Regions from separate parts of the Homo sapiens genome. Here region 2 is linked to region 1. Evidence: promoter capture Hi-C in human tissues and cell types (Jung and others, 2019). All regions are on one chromosome and are shown on one strand. Each heading gives the region's core, a stretch centred on a gene start or on the middle of the fragment in contact. The rest is flanking DNA. Distances are from core to core; before and after follow the strand shown.

Region 1 (5,486 bases), core at 2,964-5,463:
AAGGAAAGGAGATCAAGGGAAAAAGCAGCCAAGGCCTTGAGGCTGGGTCTATATGTACAATTTAGTTGGACAGTGGAAGCTCTAAGGATTTATTTTGGTCTCAGGTATAGAATTACTTCAAGCAGAAGCTGTTCTTTGTTGCCCTATTGCCTACATTTTCCCATAAACACCACTGCTTTCATTTAGCCATGCCTCTGCCCAGGCTGTTCTCTCTGCCACAGATATTGTGTGTTTGCTTTACACAGTCAGATATATCATTTAAGTCTTAGCTCAAATGCTGCATGTCTATGCAGCCTTCTCCAACTCCTGTGGGCAGACTTGAGGGTCCTTTTACTTCCATTGGACATGTATCACATTATATTACAATGGCTTGTTTGCATATTTGTCTTTCCACCCAAAGGGTAGAAATCATGGCTTCTTATCTCTGTATCCCCAGTACTAGCATAGCGCTGAGCACATTGTGGGTGTCAATATCTTTCTGTTGGAAAAAATCAGTGACTGGATGGATATTTATTTGTAAGGATCAATTTTGTGAATCAGGCTATAGAACTTCTAAGCCATGAATTTCAGCTCCATGGTTTACAAAAACTTCAATTTCCATTATCTTATTGATTTTCACAATAGCCCTATCAAATAGGATTATGTTATTATTCCCCATTTATGGATGGGAACATCGAGGTCCTGAAGGTTAAGTGACTTTTCCATAGGCAGTCAGATAATAAAGGCAGGACTGGACTCCAGTGTCAGTCTCCGGCTCCAGTTTTAGCACTCTCTCTCCTGTATTTCATTGTCTTTTTGTAAGTTTCTACAACCCCCAAGTATAGCTACTCTCTTGCATTTGAAAATAGTCACTCACTTTGCTGAGGGAAAGGACAAATGATGCTGGTTTCATAGGGTAATGTGTTGGTAAGGAATGGGTGGGGCCTAAGGAATCAAGAACATGGACATTTGTTGAACTGCTATTTTGTGTGAGGTGCTTTTATATATACCATCTCACAACAACCTTGAGGAGTTGAGATTATCTCCACTGTGCAGGTGAGAAAAGTAAGATTCAGAGGCATTACTTGCCTGTTATGTCATGTAATTCTCACCCTGAGAACAATTATGACCATTCCCTTTTTTCAGATAAGGAGTTTGAGCCTTTGGAATATGAACTGACTTGTCCAAGCAGTTCAATAGCAATAGGCAGGGCCAGAATTTGAACCTGGCCTCATCTAACTTCAAATCAACTTTGATGTGCAGAACTCCAATAGAAATGAAGAAAGACTTTTACATATGAAGCTTTTCATATTCCATTTATTTTGAATATGATTTTAGGATTTAGATAACCCTGGGGATTAAGAGTTTTTTCGGAATAAGATGTCGATTAAATGTAGAGTACTGTGCAATTGGTGTCCAAGGACTTGTAAGAGTGCTCAGTTGACAGAAGGTGAAAAAAAAAAAAAGTTAGTGCTTTTGGCTGCCAGACCTGGAAGCCTATGGAATGGCCCTGTTGGAAAGGGGATGGGCAGTGCTGACATCCACATCTGGAGTGGAAGAAGCACAAATCAGTGACAGGTCTGCACAATTTTCTGAATGTGAATACCACCAAGAGTAAAACAGACAGTTCGGCCATGGAGGACAAAATGCTGTGTGTAACTCAAATGAAAAGTCCATGATAATTGAGCCAATTTGAATTTAAAATAAAAAGTTTGGCTCAGCTATGTGGGTTTGGGAAGTGGCTACTTCATCTTCTAAATGAAAAATGTTCATCTGGCCTTTTTTCTTTCTTTCTTTTTTATTATACTTTAAGTTCTAGGGTACATGTGCACAATGTGCAGGTTTGTTACGTATGTATACATGTGCCATGTTGGTGTGCTGCACCCATTAACTTGTCATTTACATTAGGTATATCTCCTGACGCTATCCCTCCCCCATCCCCCCACCCCACGACAGGCCCCGGTGTGTGATGTTCCCCACCCTGTGTCCAAGTGTTCTCATTGTTCATTTCCCACCTGTGCAGTGTTTGGTTTTCTGTCCTTGCGATAGTTTGCTCAGAATGATGGTTTCCAGCTTCATCCATGTCCCTACAAAAGACATGAAGTCATCCTTTTTTATGGCTGCATAGTATTCTATGGTGTATATGTGCCACATTTTCTTAATCCAGTGTATCACTGATAGACATTTGGGTTGGTCCCAAGTCTTTGCTATGTGAATAATAGTCTTTGCTATGTGCCACAATAAACATACGTGTGCACGTGTCTTTATAGCAGCAAGATTTATAATACTTTGGGTATATACCCAGTAATGGGATGGCTGGTTCAAATGGTATTTCTAGTTCTAGATCCTTGAGGAATCGCCACACTGTCTTCCACAATGGTTGAACTAGTTTACAGTCCCACCAACAGTATAAAAGTGTTCCTATTTCTCCACATGCTCTCCAGCACCTGTTGTTTCCTGACTTTTTAATGATCGTCATTCTAACTGGTGTGAGATGGTATCTCATTGCGGTTTTGATTTGTATTTCTCTGATGGCCCATCTGGCCTTTTTTCTTTGGTAAGGCTGTGCCTTCATGGTGTTCAAAAATGGTTTCGCTACATCTACAAAGTGAGGCTTAATAAAAAGAGTTTTGAAAGAGATGGTCTATGTCTCTCCTATGCAAGCTCTGTATCGAAACTAGAGTAACTTATTTAGAGAACACTTTATCACACACACAGTGTTTTCATATAGAGACAGTCCCCAACTTATGATGGTTCAACTTTATGATTTTCCAACTTGAATCAGTGTATTACATGCATTTTAACCTACAATATTTTCAACTTACAATGTGTTTATCAGGATGTTGTTGCTCTATCACAAATTGAGAAGCATCTATGATCTCACTTAATGCTCATGAACACCCTATGATCCAGAAGACACGTAAGGGATATAGTCACCTTTTTGTGTTTCAGAGAAGTAAGGGTGAATACTCATCCAGGCTATGGAACAATGTATCATTTAAATATCACAAGTGCCCTGTGGGGAGGGCAACTTTACCTGCATTTAACATGAGTAAGCTAAACAGAGAGAGTACGCTGGTTTGTCTAAAGCCATGCACTCAGCAGAGCAAGGATTTCAACCTAAGTCATGAGGTTATTGAGTGGTGGCTAAGACCAGAACCCAAGCCTCTTCTGAATCTCTTGTGAAAATGACCTTATTGCTCATTTTCTCTATCTATCCCAAAGAGGATTGCCCAGGTGAAATTAGTTTTAAGTGAACTTCATGATGATCCCTGAAATGCAATGAAAATTCCAGGGATAACCTAAATGGTATGACAGGTAGGGGAGAGGTTCCAATCCATCTTTTATTCTAACATGCTGAGAGTTTTATACACACACAGTGTTCTCAAGTAACAGGGGGCTTAGCCAGATCGACTCCTTTCTCCATTGCCTCCTGCTATGTGTTAATAAAAGATGGGCCACTGCTGGCCTCAATTTACTGTTAGCCAATTGTTACTCGTAACAATCAAGTGGCAAACAGTCAAGAAGAAAGAGCACTGGGCTTGAGAATCCTGGGAAAACTCAGGTTAGAATCTTAGGATCAGGTCTAGAGCTTTAAGAAATACTCATTTTCCTTCCCCATCTTAATAGATGAGAAAGGCAAGGGCAAGAGAGGACGCAAGTATTGTCAAGGGCTTAGGAATGGCTTTGGAGTCAGAATGGGCTAGATCTGACTTTGGCCAACTCACTGAACCTCCCTGAGGTGCAGTGTCCACGTTTGTTGAATGGCGATAACATGTAATTCACAGGGCTGTTGTTCAAGGATTAAATGAGATAATAGATGGACAGCGCCTGGCAGAAGCAAGCGCCCAGAAGCTGGTGGGTGTTGTTATACAGCTGGACTGAAACCCACGTCTCTAGACTCCTGCCTTCTTGCCTCAGGAGAGGCACCACCGCAAGTACCTGCAGAAGCCTATCAAGCGCTGCAGCGGCCTCATGGGCCTGAACTGGAGTTTGAGACCAGCCATCTCTTCCTCACCCCTTGCGGTTAGAGGAGTCAAGAGAAACACCACGGGGCAAAGGGAAACGAAGGAGTTAAGGCGTTGAGCTTCAGAAAGCTCAGAAAACTAAAGCGACCCCCCACTCCTCCAAGCCAGGCTAAGTAAGCCCCTCCCCTCTACCACCGGGACGGTCGCCGCGCGCTCCCTCCCTCCGCCCCTTGCTTACAAGACCTAATGAGCTCCCCCGGGAGGCAGCGCAGCGAGCCAGGCCCGGAACTAGTAGGCTGCGCCGCGCGCGCCGCGCCGGGGCGGGAGCTGGGTCTGGGCGGCGGGCAGGAGCTGGCGGGGGCGCACGGGCAGCGCTGCGGACAGCCCGGGAGCCGCGGCGATGGCGGTGCAGGCGGCGCTCCTCAGCACGCACCCTTTCGTGCCCTTCGGCTTCGGGGGCTCCCCGGACGGGCTAGGGGGCGCCTTCGGAGCCCTGGACAAGGGCTGCTGTTTCGAGGACGATGAGACCGGGGCTCCGGCGGGTGCGCTGCTGTCGGGAGCCGAAGGAGGGGACGTGCGCGAGGCCACCCGCGATCTACTCAGCTTCATTGACTCGGCGTCCAGCAACATCAAGCTGGCGCTGGACAAGCCGGGCAAGTCGAAGCGGAAGGTGAACCACCGCAAGTACCTGCAGAAGCAGATCAAGCGCTGCAGCGGCCTCATGGGCGCCGCGCCCCCCGGCCCGCCCTCCCCGAGCGCCGCCGACACGCCAGCCAAACGGCCGCTGGCCGCCCCTAGCGCCCCGACAGTCGCGGCCCCGGCCCACGGCAAGGCTGCCCCCCGGCGGGAGGCGTCGCAGGCCGCCGCGGCCGCCAGCTTGCAAAGCCGAAGTCTGGCCGCGCTCTTCGACTCGCTGCGCCACGTCCCCGGGGGTGCCGAGCCGGCGGGGGGTGAGGTGGCTGCGCCGGCGGCCGGGCTAGGAGGTGCGGGCACTGGGGGCGCGGGAGGGGACGTGGCAGGCCCCGCGGGGGCCACGGCGATCCCAGGGGCCAGGAAGGTCCCGCTGCGGGCACGCAATCTGCCTCCGTCCTTCTTCACGGAGCCGTCCCGGGCAGGCGGCGGCGGGTGTGGCCCGTCGGGGCCGGACGTGAGCTTGGGCGACCTGGAGAAGGGCGCGGAGGCCGTGGAGTTCTTTGAGCTGCTGGGGCCCGACTACGGCGCCGGCACGGAGGCGGCAGTCTTGCTTGCCGCCGAGCCTCTCGACGTGTTCCCCGCCGGAGCCTCCGTACTGCGGGGACCCCCGGAGCTGGAGCCCGGCCTCTTTGAGCCGCCGCCGGCAGTGGTGGGAAACCTACTGTACCCCGAGCCCTGGAGCGTCCCGGGCTGCTCCCCGACCAAAAAGAGCCCCCTGACTGCCCCCCGCGGCGGCTTGACCTTGAACGAGCCCTTGAGCCCCCTGTACCCCGCCGCTGCGGATTCTCCCGGCGGGGAGGACGGGCGGGGCCATTTGGCCTCTTTCGCCCCCTTCTTTCCAGACTG
Region 2 (5,724 bases), core at 3,139-5,638, 340 kb before region 1:
TATCTCAAACAAGGGACTATACATAGCTTTTGTGTTTCTACTTAGGTTTAGGCACGTTAAATGGACCTCTGTGAAGTTGCATCTCTTACCTGACTGAGCAGATATTAAGTTAAAATAAACATTAGGTTACAGGTGTGTCAAATAGCTCTCTAAATCTGGGTATAATATGGGCCCATGACAATAAACAATTACCATTAAACATTATTTTCATACCTCTCCCTCCCTCCAGCGATAGAAGATTGCTGGACCCAAAGTTTTAAATTCAGCAGGAACAAGCAGGCACTGGCTTGGACACAAAATTAGGTTTTAGCCTAAATTTTTGAGATTTGGGGAGTCACACTGGATGTATGGGACTCTGCACTTAAGTTCAAAATGTGTTAACTTGTGGCAGAGTAACAGAACTAGCAGGTCACATTTTGTTTTTTCTTTGAAATGCCTCGGGTTATTTCTTCTGGTGCACATCTTGAGAGCAAATTAAATCACATTTGGACATACCAGGTTACAGTGCCAGGCTCTAGTAATAAACAACTACTTTTGACTTTTATTATACTGAATCCCTACCTGTCTTGGTTACTCCCTTCTTTTTACTGAAACAGGGCCTTACTCTTACCCAGGCTGGAACACAATGGCACCACTGCAACCTACGACTCCTGGGCTCAAGTGATCCTCCTGCCTCAGCCTCCTGAGTAGCTAAGACTACAGGCACATGCCGCCATGCTCAGCTTTTTCTTTTTTTTTTTCCCTGAGATGGAGCCTCGTCCTGTTGCCCAGGATGGGGTACAGTGGCACGATCTCAGCTCACTGCCTCTGCCTCCTGGGTTTTAAGTGACTCTCCTGCCTCAGCCTCCTGAGTAGCTGGGATTACAAGCACCTGCCACCAAGCCCAGCTAATTTTTGCATTTTTAGTAGAGATGGGTTTTCACCATGTTGGCCAGGTTGGTCTTGAACTTCTGACCTCAAGTGATTCACCTGCCTCGGCCTCCCAAAGTGCTGGGGTTATTGGTGTGAGACACCATGCTTGTTCAACTGCTCCCTTTTTACTGACTTCTTTCCATTTATTCTGCCAGTTAAATTTCTCAAGACATAAAGCAGCTTATTTACTGAATTTGATTTATGTTACTGGGTAATGGAATGAGAAGGACTTCAGGTAATGGACATTAGTTCGTAACTCTCAAAATTCGGTTACTTTTTATGGAGGGCTTTGTTGCCTTAAGGTGTCAGTTTCTTTCCTTGTGCATTTTTCTGTATTGATACAATTAAACCATCTTCATGTAAGTAATCTAATCAACTCAATTATCTCAGATTTCTCTTCCTCCAGGTAATGTGTATGGATAAACATAGCTGGGCAACAACACAGACAAATCCTGTTCACATTTAACATTCTGGTTCAACTGAGCATCAGTTTTCTCTAACAGTGGTGGTGAGGATCCTAGTTAGGTTTGGCAAGGAAGTATTAATGATACAGGTGTGAAAAGCAAACACCATCTTTCAGAACCAAGTTAATTTCTCAAAAGAAGCAGAGACATTATCATTGCCATGTGTTTTTGGAATTAAGAATCATAAATATGCACTATTCTTGGGAGTACAAGTTTGGTTAAATAGGCAGCTATGAAAAACCTGGCAAACAGGAGCTATAGGAAAGAAAAATAATCAAACAAAAATCAATTATTATGTAGAAGAAAATTACAAAAGTACTTCAGAGCTCTTCTCCCTTCCTCCTGACTGGATTTCAGGGCAGGGCAGAATTTTGTGTCCTTGAATTCCTTTAAAAAGTTCAGACTGAGGTACAGTATGATTTTGGCCCTTAAGTAGGGAAATTTAAATATGCTTATGCCTCTTCTCCTATCTTAAATCCTTACAATCCTGCCCTCTCTAACCCATTATTTCTTGCCTTTTTCAGAGCCAAACTTCTTAAAAGTTTAAGTACCTACTTCTTTTCTCATTCCCATTTGTTCACTTGTCAAACCTCTGAAATCTGGCTTCTCCTCACTACTACATTAATTCAGTTTATCTGGAAAATGAGACAATCCAGCAACTCTTCACAGGGAAATACACGGCCAGTTGAAAAGTAACAAAATTTGCCCATAAATTGTCTCAAGAGCAGCAAGAAACAGAAGCAAAACAATTTTAGAAAGACACATAAACATGAATACTGAAAATGGAACAGTCATAGGACTGAAACTCAAGAAAGAGGCATAATGCCCAACATTAAAGATATGCAGAGTAAAGAGCTGAAATGGAGACTCTTGCATTTAGACTGCCAAATATAAAAACAAATAAATGTAAACAGTTTATCACCAAAATAACACTTTAAACTGTTGAGACTGCATAAATGTACCATACTACTGTTAGTATTCCATAGAAATAGCACATGACCAGTATGTCATTTAGATTACACATATGGAACATGCTAGTTAGCTGCAGTATTTTAATTGCAATGAAAGCACTCTGTAAGTATCTCTGCAATAGTATACTTTATACATTACCACTTAAAGGCAAAAACAAAATTCTTCAGTTATTTCAGGATATTTAAAAACTTAAGTTTTCCTATATAAAATACAAAACATTCACAAGGAAATGGCAGAATATGCTAATAATTGAGCCAAGAGAATACACACTGTGCAGTTTTACAGGGACAAGTACCAAGTAACTATAGAAGCTGTCACTTAATACCATATAAATGGCTAGAAGCCCCAGTATACGCCTGTAGTCCTAGTTACTTGAGTGGCTGAGGCAGGATTGCTCGAACCCAGGAGTCTGTGGCTGTCATTTGCTATGATCATGCTTGTGAATAGCCACTGCACTCCACATGGCTAGACCCCATCTCAAATAAATAAATAAATAAAATGGCTAAAAGTTTGGTCGGAGAGGGTAGGGAAGGAGGAAAGCTGTTTTATTTTGGCTCAGTCTTAAAAAAAATGTATCACTTAGGTACCTCAAGGATTACAGTTACTGAATTTTATCTTCTGGTGCTGGAGCAGCTCATCTCCAAGGTATTCAGTTTGATAAGCACCTATGTGTTATATTCATGAAATCAGGAGTTAGGTGTAAGAAAGTGACTTTGATGAACATTCCTTAAGTTTTAACCTTTAAGCAAGTTTATGTATAGGCAGCACCCTCAGATTCTACATCAAATAAGGCTTCATGAATACATGAATACTTCATGAATACATAACTGCATACAGCTGAACATCTCTGCATGTTTGAATTTCCTTAAGTGGCTATATTCATGAACATATTTACGCTCGGCAAGTTTATCTTCATATATTTATCCTTGCAAAGAAACATTTTCGGCTGGGCACGGTGGCTCACACCTGTAATCCCAGCACTTTGGGAGGCCGAGGCGGGTGGATCACGAGGTCAGGAGTTTGAGACCAGCCTGACCAACATGATGAAACCCGTCTCTAATAAAAATACAAAAATTAGCTGGGCATGGTGGCATGCGCCTGTAAATCCCAGCTAGTCAGGAGACTGAGGCAAGAGAAATCACTTGAACCCAGGAGCGGAGATTGCAGTGAGTCGAGACCGTACCACTGTACTCCAGCCTGGGCAACAGACTCCATCTCAAAAAAAAAAAAAAAAGTTTTCTAGTGCTCCCTTAATTATCCAAACCTGTAAAAAATTGAGAAATAAAGTTAACAGAGGACTCTCTTTTCCTGTTAATCATTACTATGGACATTTGGATTTCAAATCTTGACCTTGGGATATTTACTGCATTTATCTTCAGCAGCATATTAAGCAGCTAAAATTATGTAAATTTGTTTCAAACTCAAATTGGGTTACTAAGATTAAAAAGCACACTTTTTATTTTCCTGAGTATTGTTAACTAAAAGTAAAAATAAAAGTTTTCTCATTGTCCAGAATGAATTAAAGATTTTCCCTAGAGGACAGGCATAGTGGCTCACTCCTATAATCCCAGCACTTTGGGAGGCAGAGGCAGACGGATCACTTGAGGTCAAGAGTTCCAGACCAGCCTGGCCAACATGGTGAAACCCCGTCTCTACTAAACATACAAAAATTAGCCGGGTGTGGTAGTGCCTGCCTGTAGTCCCAGCTACTTGGGAGGCCGAGGCAGAAGAATTGCTTGAACCTGGGAGGCGGAGGTTACAGTGAGTAGAGATCGCGCCACTGCACTCCAGCCTGGGCGACAGAGCAAGGCTCTGTCTCAAAAAAAAAAAAAAAAAAAAAGTAATCTGTTAGATCTGTTAGCAAGATTATATGATTACATAATGGTACACTTGATGGGAATTAGGAACATACCGATATATTCCTGTATGAACTCAAGTCACTTAACCAGACCACTTCCTAAGCTGTAAAGAGGAAGCTTTGAATATTAAATGCTTATCTGAAACCATTTGGAAAAGCAAAGTTTATTAATACCACTCTGAAGTATCTGAAGCTCATACTCAATTATTTAAATTAGGAACTTAAGCTCCTCTATTAAAAGGAAAATGTGTATTTTCTTGTTGAAACATAAAATATAAAGCACATTTCATGTGTACTACTGTCTTAAAAATTGAGAGTCCAACATTAAAATTAAACAAGTATTGAACTGCATTATACAAGAAATCAAAATCATGACAAAAAAAATCCACTGTTTAAAGAGTAAAGAGAAACAGTGGTGAGCTTGCTGTATCATTAAAGACACTGAACAGGTAAGATAATTGGATTCTAATTCTGCCCTGCCTTTGCCATCAATGTACAGTGTGACCACTAGCAATTTTTAATTTCACTGTGTGCATGCCCATTTCCTTATCTGTAAAACATGGGCTGAGGAATTTGTAAGATTTCTCAGCTCTAAAAAGGGGTCTCTGTGACCTAAAAGATACTCTATTATAATATCATTTGTTCAAAGATCATAAATATTAACATCAATAACTTAAAAATTCAAGACTTAGGGCAAGAAAATTTTTATTTTCAGAAAATTCTAAACAATATATTGTCTCTGGATACTTCAGCTTTTAAGTTTCTGCATAACTATCATAATTTTACCACAGCGTTGAGCTCTTACTAGGTGTCTCTTAACATTAGACTTTCTTAATATTAGGCTAAACCCTCATTCTAAGAAATATACAGGTTAGTCAGGATATCATGGTTGGTCCCTTTTTTTTTTTTTTTTTTAAACGGGAGTTTTGCTGTTATTGCCCGGGCTAGAGTGCATTAGCACAATCTCGGATCACTGCAACCTCCGCCTTCCAGTTTCAAGCGATTCTCCTGCCTCAGCCTCCCAAGTCGCTGGGATTACAGGCACCCGCCACCACACTCAGTTAATTTTTTGTATGTTTAGTAGAGACGGGGTTTCACCATGTTGGTCAGGCTGGTCTTGAACTGCTGACCTCGTGATCCACCCACCTCGGCCCCAAAGTGCTGGGATTACAGGCGTGAGCCACCGTGCTTGGCCCGGTTGGTCCTCTTAAAGCTAAAACTGATCTCATCTCCTCTCACTCCCCTCTCCCTCCCACAATTGCCATGTGTAAACCGTTCACCAGGTAAATTCCTTATCTACACATTTTCAGAATTCATTCATGGGTATAATTAGCAATAAACCTAAAATCTTTCTCAAAGCTTTTGTTATTGTGTGACTTACTGCAAAAATACAAACACAGGATGTAGAGGACTACTCCACCCAACTCTTGTAGACTCACCTATAGTTTTAAAAACACAATACTTGGTTCTAACCCTGGAGATTTCAACAGGGATGGGAAGGTAACAGCCATATACTTT

What was found. Contacts are between HindIII fragments. The study calls those that stand out against the background at their distance.
Region 2: a contact is called between a fragment that was not itself captured here and the fragment with the promoter of FAM181B in region 1, in 1 of the 25 tissues and cell types used here (dorsolateral prefrontal cortex).

What each region holds. Positions count from the first base shown.
Region 1 is chr11:82,732,591-82,738,076 of GRCh38, reverse strand. FAM181B (family with sequence similarity 181 member B) reads left to right here and starts at 4,213. Exons shown (of 1, transcript NM_175885.4): 1 at 4,213-5,486. The coding sequence starts at 4,348. The HindIII fragment of the contact is 21,418 bases long and covers 1-5,486 here.
Region 2 is chr11:83,074,922-83,080,645 of GRCh38, reverse strand. The region is part of intron 2 of LINC02951 (long intergenic non-protein coding RNA 2951); the gene reads left to right. Among named protein-coding and RNA genes, the nearest start is that of RAB30-DT, 5.7 kb to the right of the region's middle. The HindIII fragment of the contact is 6,094 bases long and covers 1,342-5,724 here.